Regions from separate parts of the Homo sapiens genome. Here region 1 is linked to region 2. The links are contacts of gene promoters, found by promoter capture Hi-C in human tissues and cell types (Jung and others, 2019). All regions are on one chromosome and are shown on one strand. The core of a region is centred on a gene start or on the middle of the fragment in contact, and the rest is flanking DNA. Distances in the headings are between cores, read along the strand shown. Region 1 has its middle 5.9 kb from the start of ZNF613. Region 2 holds the start of ZNF525 (zinc finger protein 525).

What was found. The method cuts DNA at HindIII sites, captures the fragments that hold promoters and counts their contacts. A contact is called where the count stands out against the background at its distance.
Region 1: a fragment that was not itself captured here is called in contact with the fragment with the promoter of ZNF525 in region 2 in 1 of the 25 tissues and cell types used here (spleen).

The regions. Positions count from the first base shown.
Region 1 is chr19:51,920,039-51,923,167 of GRCh38, reverse strand. No RefSeq gene overlaps it. Among named protein-coding and RNA genes, the nearest start is that of ZNF613, 5.9 kb to the left of the region's middle. The HindIII fragment of the contact is 6,337 bases long and covers 1-3,129 here.
Region 2 is chr19:53,363,849-53,366,954 of GRCh38, reverse strand. It overlaps ZNF525 (zinc finger protein 525), which reads right to left and starts at 1,250. Exons shown (of 4, transcript NM_001348156.2): 1 at 1,196-1,250. RefSeq lists silencers at 853-912, 1,313-1,362 and an enhancer at 953-1,202. The HindIII fragment of the contact is 12,378 bases long and covers 1-3,106 here.

The DNA of each region.
Region 1 (3,129 bases), core at 23-2,522, 1.4 Mb after region 2:
TGGGCCACACATAAAATATACTAACACTAACAATAGCTGATGAGCTTAAAGAAAAAAGAAAAAAAACTCAAAAAATCTCATAATGTTTTAAGAAAGTTTACAAATTTGTTTTGCATTCAAAGCCCTCCTGGAGGCCAGGCACAGTGGCTTATGCCTGTAATCCCAGCACTTTGGGAGGCTGAAGTGGGCAGATCACTTGAGGTCAGTAGTTCCAGACCAGGCTTGCCAATATGGTGAAACCCCGTCTCTACTAAAAATACAAAAAACTATCTGGGCATGGTGGCACATGCCTGTAATCTCAGCTACTTGGGAGGCTGAAGTAGGAGAATTGCTCGAATGTGGGAGAATCGCTTGAACTTGAGAGTTGGAGGTTGCAGTGAGCTGAGATTGTGCCCCTGCACTCCAGCCTGGGCAACAGAGTGAAACTCCATCTCAAACAACAAAAACAACAACAACAACAACAAAACAAAGCCCTCCTGGGCTGTGTGCACCACCACCAACAACAACAAAACAAAGCCCTCCTGGGCCATGTGCACCCCATGGTCCGCAGGTTGGACAAGCTTGGTTTAGAAGTTACCTGCCAGGTATAGGGAAGGGCTGAGCCTTTCTTTGGAATGTTCAGTTTCTGGGTAACCCAGACTCGCTCTGTTTATCCTTTACTGCACAGCTTGTCTTCACACCATGATGTCTTGAATCTCAACTGGAAGACTCAGAAGGTTGGGGACTGGAATCATCTGAAGGCTTCTTCCTCTCTGTATCTGTGTGCCAGGCTGGGATTACTTGAAAACTAGGCTCAAGGAGGCTGCCAGCCAGAGCACCTGTGTGTGACCTCCACATGTGACATGGATGGGCTTCTCACAGCATGATGCTGGCTCTGAGACAGCCAAGATGCGGCCACAGGGCCTTTTCTGCCTTAGCCTCAGAAGTTATGTTGTGTCACCTCTGTTGCATTCTGCAGCTAGCTCAGTCGGTAGAGCATGAGACTCTTAATCTCAGGGTCATGGGTTCGTGCCCCATGTTGGGTGCCAGATGAAGGAGGCCTGCCCCTCCACACCTGTGGGTATTTCTCACAAGGTGGAGACGAGAGACTGAGAAAAGAAATAAGACACAGAGACAAACTATCGAGGAAGAAAAGTGGGCCCAGGGAACCGGCACTCAACATACGGAGGACCCGCACCAACACTGGTCTCTGAGTTCCCTCAGTATTTATTGATTACTATCTCTACTATCTCGGTGAGGGGGATGTGGGAGGACTATAGGGTAATGGTGGGAAGAGGGTCAGCAGGAAAACGTGAGCAAAGGACTCTGTGTTATAAATAAGTTTAAGGAAAGGTGCTGTGCCTTGATATGCACATAGGCCAGATTTATCTTTGACTTTACACAAACATCTCAGTGAAGTAAAGACAGTATTGCCCCCACCATGTCTCACCTCCAGCCATAAGGCAGTTTTCTCCTATCTCAGTAAATAGAATGTACGATCGGGTTTTACACTGACACATTCCATTCCCAGGGATGAGCAGGAGAGAGATACCTTCCTCTTATCTCAACTGCAAAGAGGTCTTCCTCTTTCACTAATCCTCCTCAGCACAGACCCTTTATGGGTGTCAGGCTGGGGGACAGTCTGGTCTTTCTCTTTCCATGAGGCCATATCTCAGGCTGTCTCAGTGGAGAGAAACCTTGGACAATACACAGGCTTTCTTGGGCAGAGATCCCTGTGGCTTTCTGCAGTGCATTGTGTCCCTGGGTACTCGAGACTGGAGAATGGCCATGACTTTTACCAAGCATACTGCCTGCAAACACATTTTTACCAAGGCACATCCTGCACAGCCCTAAGTCCATTAAACCTTGAGTCAATACAATACATGTTTCTGCAAGCATAGGGTTGGGGCTAGGGTTACAGATTAACAGCATCTCAAGGCAGAATAATTTCTCTTAGTACAGATCAAAATGGAGTTTCTTTTGTCTTCCTTTTTCTACATAGATGCAGTAATAGTCTGATCTCTCATTCTTTCCCCCATGCTTTTCTGCCTTAGCCTCGGAAGTTATGTTGTGTCACCTCTGTTGTATTCTGCAGGTACAAGCAAATCACCAAGACTAGCTAGGTTCAAGGGGGAAGGGAATAGGCTCCATCTCTTCGTGTGGGAGTGGCAAGATTTAGCAGAAGGTTTTCTTTGGAATGTGAGATATTATTGTGGTCATCTTTGGGAAATGCAGTCTACCACATGGACACAATAACAAATCGTTTCCTTTTCCCTGAGGAGAAAGCTCCTCTAGAAAAGTGAATATTTCATGTTACTTAAGAAGAAATTTCTTTGATGGGTCATGATATAGATCATATAGAAGTTAGTGCCCCCACAGATAAGCCAGTGGTGTAATACCAAAACCAAACTCAGTGATCAGAGTGCTTCAGGGACCCAGAACAGTGTAGCCAAAGTCCACAGCCTCCTGGGGGTCTGTTTTTATTCAGGGATAAAATGTAGAGATTTTTAAGATGGATGGATTCTATGACCATCATATGGTCTTCCACAAAGAGTCCTCAATATTCTGCTTTTTTTTTTATCAGTGGTTTTCATTTTTTGACCCCAGGTGACATTTGGCAATGTCTGGAGAAATTTTTGATTGTCACACCTGGGAAAGGAGGGTGTGCTAATTGGAGCTAGTGGATAGAGGCTAAGAATGCTGCTAAGCATCCTACAATGACACTACAGTGCCCCAAAATAAAGAATTCTCCAAACCAAAATGTCAATGCCTGTTACAGTCTGTTCCTATGGGATTGAACGAAATGGGACAAATGCAGAAGTGAAGACAAAGACAAAAAGATACATTTTAAAAGAAGGGGTCAGGGGACTCCTTGCTTCTAGTGAGCAAAGACAGCCCTCAGCTTCTACAGCCCTTCATATGTATTAGGTAGAATCAATAGGGAGAGAGAGGTAACGGTTGGTCAGCTGCTTTGATTCATTAGAGGTACACATAATTACTTTCTTTATACAACAGGCTTCAGATGTTCCTATAGATAACCACTGTGGAGCACTCGATTCTGTCACTGTTTGGGGGGGGCCACTATGTAACCTGCCACAATCCCTGGTGGGCTGAACAAAGTGGGGCAAATGCGGGAATAAAAGACGAGAC
Region 2 (3,106 bases), core at 1-2,500:
CTTTTTAGATGTAAATCTGCTGAGCCGCTGTGTACCTTAAATAAACATCCTCCTGTCTCCCCCATATCAGTCTCTCTAGTCCTCAGTTTCCCGCAACACCATCTCTGCGCCTCCTCTGCTCTCCCCGTTAAATTCTCTCTTCTCTGTTATACCCCCTGTCCCCACTCTCTGGCACCCCAGATCCCCAGGTGTCCTCCCTGCTGTGGTTCTCCCTCTGTTCTCTTTGCCACCAGCACCACTCTGCTCTGTCTGCCCTGGCTCCAAATCCCTCCTCCTCTCCCTCACCCTGATGAGCCTCCCTCTTTGCTGTCCCTCTCCCTACCTTGCTGTCCTTCATCTCTCTGTACATCTAGCTTTTCTCTACATTTCTCTAGTTGCTTTTCTCCTCCTGCTTATCTTTTTTTTTTTTTTTTTCACTTTTGCTGTCTCTTGGCAAATCCCTCACCCATCCTCTACTTTGCCATCTGTTATGGGCCTTTCTCATTCTTCTTTTCTCTGTCTCAGGTTTTCTACTGCTGTCTGTCTCCCGATCCCTTTGGCCCACACAATCACAGGAGGGTTTGGAGTAAGACGCCTGCATCCCGGAGGAGCTTATTTTCCAGGGGCTGGAACTGGGCAGGCAAGAACACCCCGTGTCACAGGACAGAACCCGGGCACCTCCCCTAACGCAGGCTCAGGGCAAGCTGTGACTGCGGATGGGAGACCTGGGGAGCAGCAGGGCCCGGCATGAGGAGGGACGTGGGGGGCGACGGCGCCTTAAGACAAGGGTGGGGTTTGTAGGATCCCAGGACAGGCAGAGAACTCGGCCTCCCCGGGACCGGAGCTGCGACGCTGCGCTCTAGGGGCCGACGAGGGCGAGGCTGGGAGGCGCCCAGGGCGGGAATTCACCTCTCGGGTGAGGACTTTAAAAAGCGCGGGGCGGGAGGAGTCAGAAAAAGGTTTAGAGCAGGAAAACTACGCGATAGAAAGTGTATATATTGCCCTATAGCAGAAAGATCCGGAACGGGACCAGCCTCAGGGAGACTTTAAACCCAAAAGGAAGTGACCCCCGGGCTCTCACGGGGACGTCTCAATTTGCTCTGGGCGAAGGAAGACGGGTGAGAATTTCCAGGTCTGTAGGGACCCCACGTCCCAGGGACAGAAGCGCCGGGGACCTGGGAAGAGCAGACTTCATACAAGATGGAGCGAAACTCACGCGCCGCTGAGGGACCTTCACTCCACGCGATCTGCTTCCGGGTTTGCGCGCGTCTGAGCGGGGAAGGACAGAAGCCAGGCCTGGGCGGGGCCTGCGAGGAGGTGGGCGGGGCCTGGGCCAGGTAGGGGTAGAGGCGGAGAGACCTTGCCCTTTAGTACCGGCAGAGGGCGGGGCGGGGCTGGGCTGGGGCGGGATCTGTGCGTCTCTCAGCCTCCCTCCCACCGCCTCTGTTTTTGGGTTTTGGAGGCGAGATGGCCAGGAAGGCCGATCCATGATTCAAAAGCCCTGGAATTGTCTGAAACGCGGATGCAAAGTAGAATGTGAAATGCAAAGCCCTGCTTGGGCAGAACTTACAATGTCATGCTGACGGCCCAGAGAATAGAATAGAAATCCTCTCCCTTTCTATTCTCCATTCACTCCGGAGGGAGAGTCCACCCTGTGCTCAGCTGCAGAGACTTCCCTAAAGCCACCGCCTGGGATGCTGGACGGAGTGCTCAGGCCAGCGAGGAGTGAGGTCACCACCTGCCGGATAAACACAGCAAGGATGCGGACGCGGGCGCGGGAGCCTGAGGTCCCATCTACTCAGGAAGCAGGGCGGGAGGATCGCTGAACCTGGGGGTCCAGGCCAGCCTGGGCGACAAAGTAACACCCCCTCCCGCAGGGCTCCCTTCCTCGTTTCTCTCTTTCTCTCTTTATTTTTCGTTGTTTTTTTTTTACGTTTTAAAATAAGAGGTTGATTGTATGAGATAGGGATCCAACATTGTTCTTTTCCATGTGGATATCCAGTTAGTTGTCCATTCCACATTTGTGGAAGAGATCTGTTACTTTCTTTTATGTATTTACTTATTTCTTTTCTTTTGTTTTGAGACAGAGTATTTCTCTGTCATCCAGGCTGCAGTGCAGTGGTGGGATCTCGACTCACTGCAAGCCTCTGCTTCCTGGGTTCAAGTGATTCCCCTGCCTCAGCCTGAAGGGGGCCTGCCCCTCCACACCTGCGGGTGTTTCTCATCAGGTGGAGATGAGAAACTGAGAAAAGAAATAAGACACAGAGACAAAGTATAGAGAAACAGCAGTGGGCCCAGACAACCGGAGCTCAGTGTGCGAGTACCCGCACCGGCGCTGGTCTCTGAGTTCCCTCAGTATTTATTGATCACTATTTTTACTATCTTTGTGAGGGGAGTGTGGCAGGGCAACAGGGTGATGGTGGCGAGAAGGTCAGCAGGGAAACGTGAGCAAAGGAATCTGTGTCATGAATAAGTTCAAGGAAAGGTACTGTGCCTGGATGTGCACGTAGGCTAGATTTATGTTTCTCTTCACACAAACATCTCAGTGTAGCAAAGAGTCACAGAGCAGTATTGCTGCCAGCATGTCTCACCTCCAACCACAGGGCGGTTTTCTCCTACCTCAGAATAGAATGAATGGTCGGCTTTACACCGAGGCATTCCATTCCCAGAAATGAGCAGGAGACAGAAGCCTTCCTCTTATCTTGACTGCAAAGAGGCCTCCCTCTTTCACTACTCCTCCTCAGCACAGACCCTTCACGGGTGTCGGGTTGGGGGATATAAGGTCTTTCTTTTCCCATGAGGCCATATCTCAGGCTGTCTCAGTGGGGGGAAACTTGGACAATACCCAGGCTTTCTAGGGCAGAGGTCCCTGCGGCTTTCCGCAGTGCATTGTGTCCCTGGTTAACAGAGAATGGAGAATGGCGATAACTTTTACCGGGCATACTGCCTGCAAACATATTGTTAACAAGGCACACCCTGCACAGCCCTAAATCCATTAAACCTTGATTCAATACAGCACATGTTTCTGTGAGCACAGGGTTGGGGCTAAAGTTACAGATTAACAGCATCGCAAAGCAGAACAATTTTTCTTAATACAGATCAAAATGGAGTTTCTTATGTCTTCCTT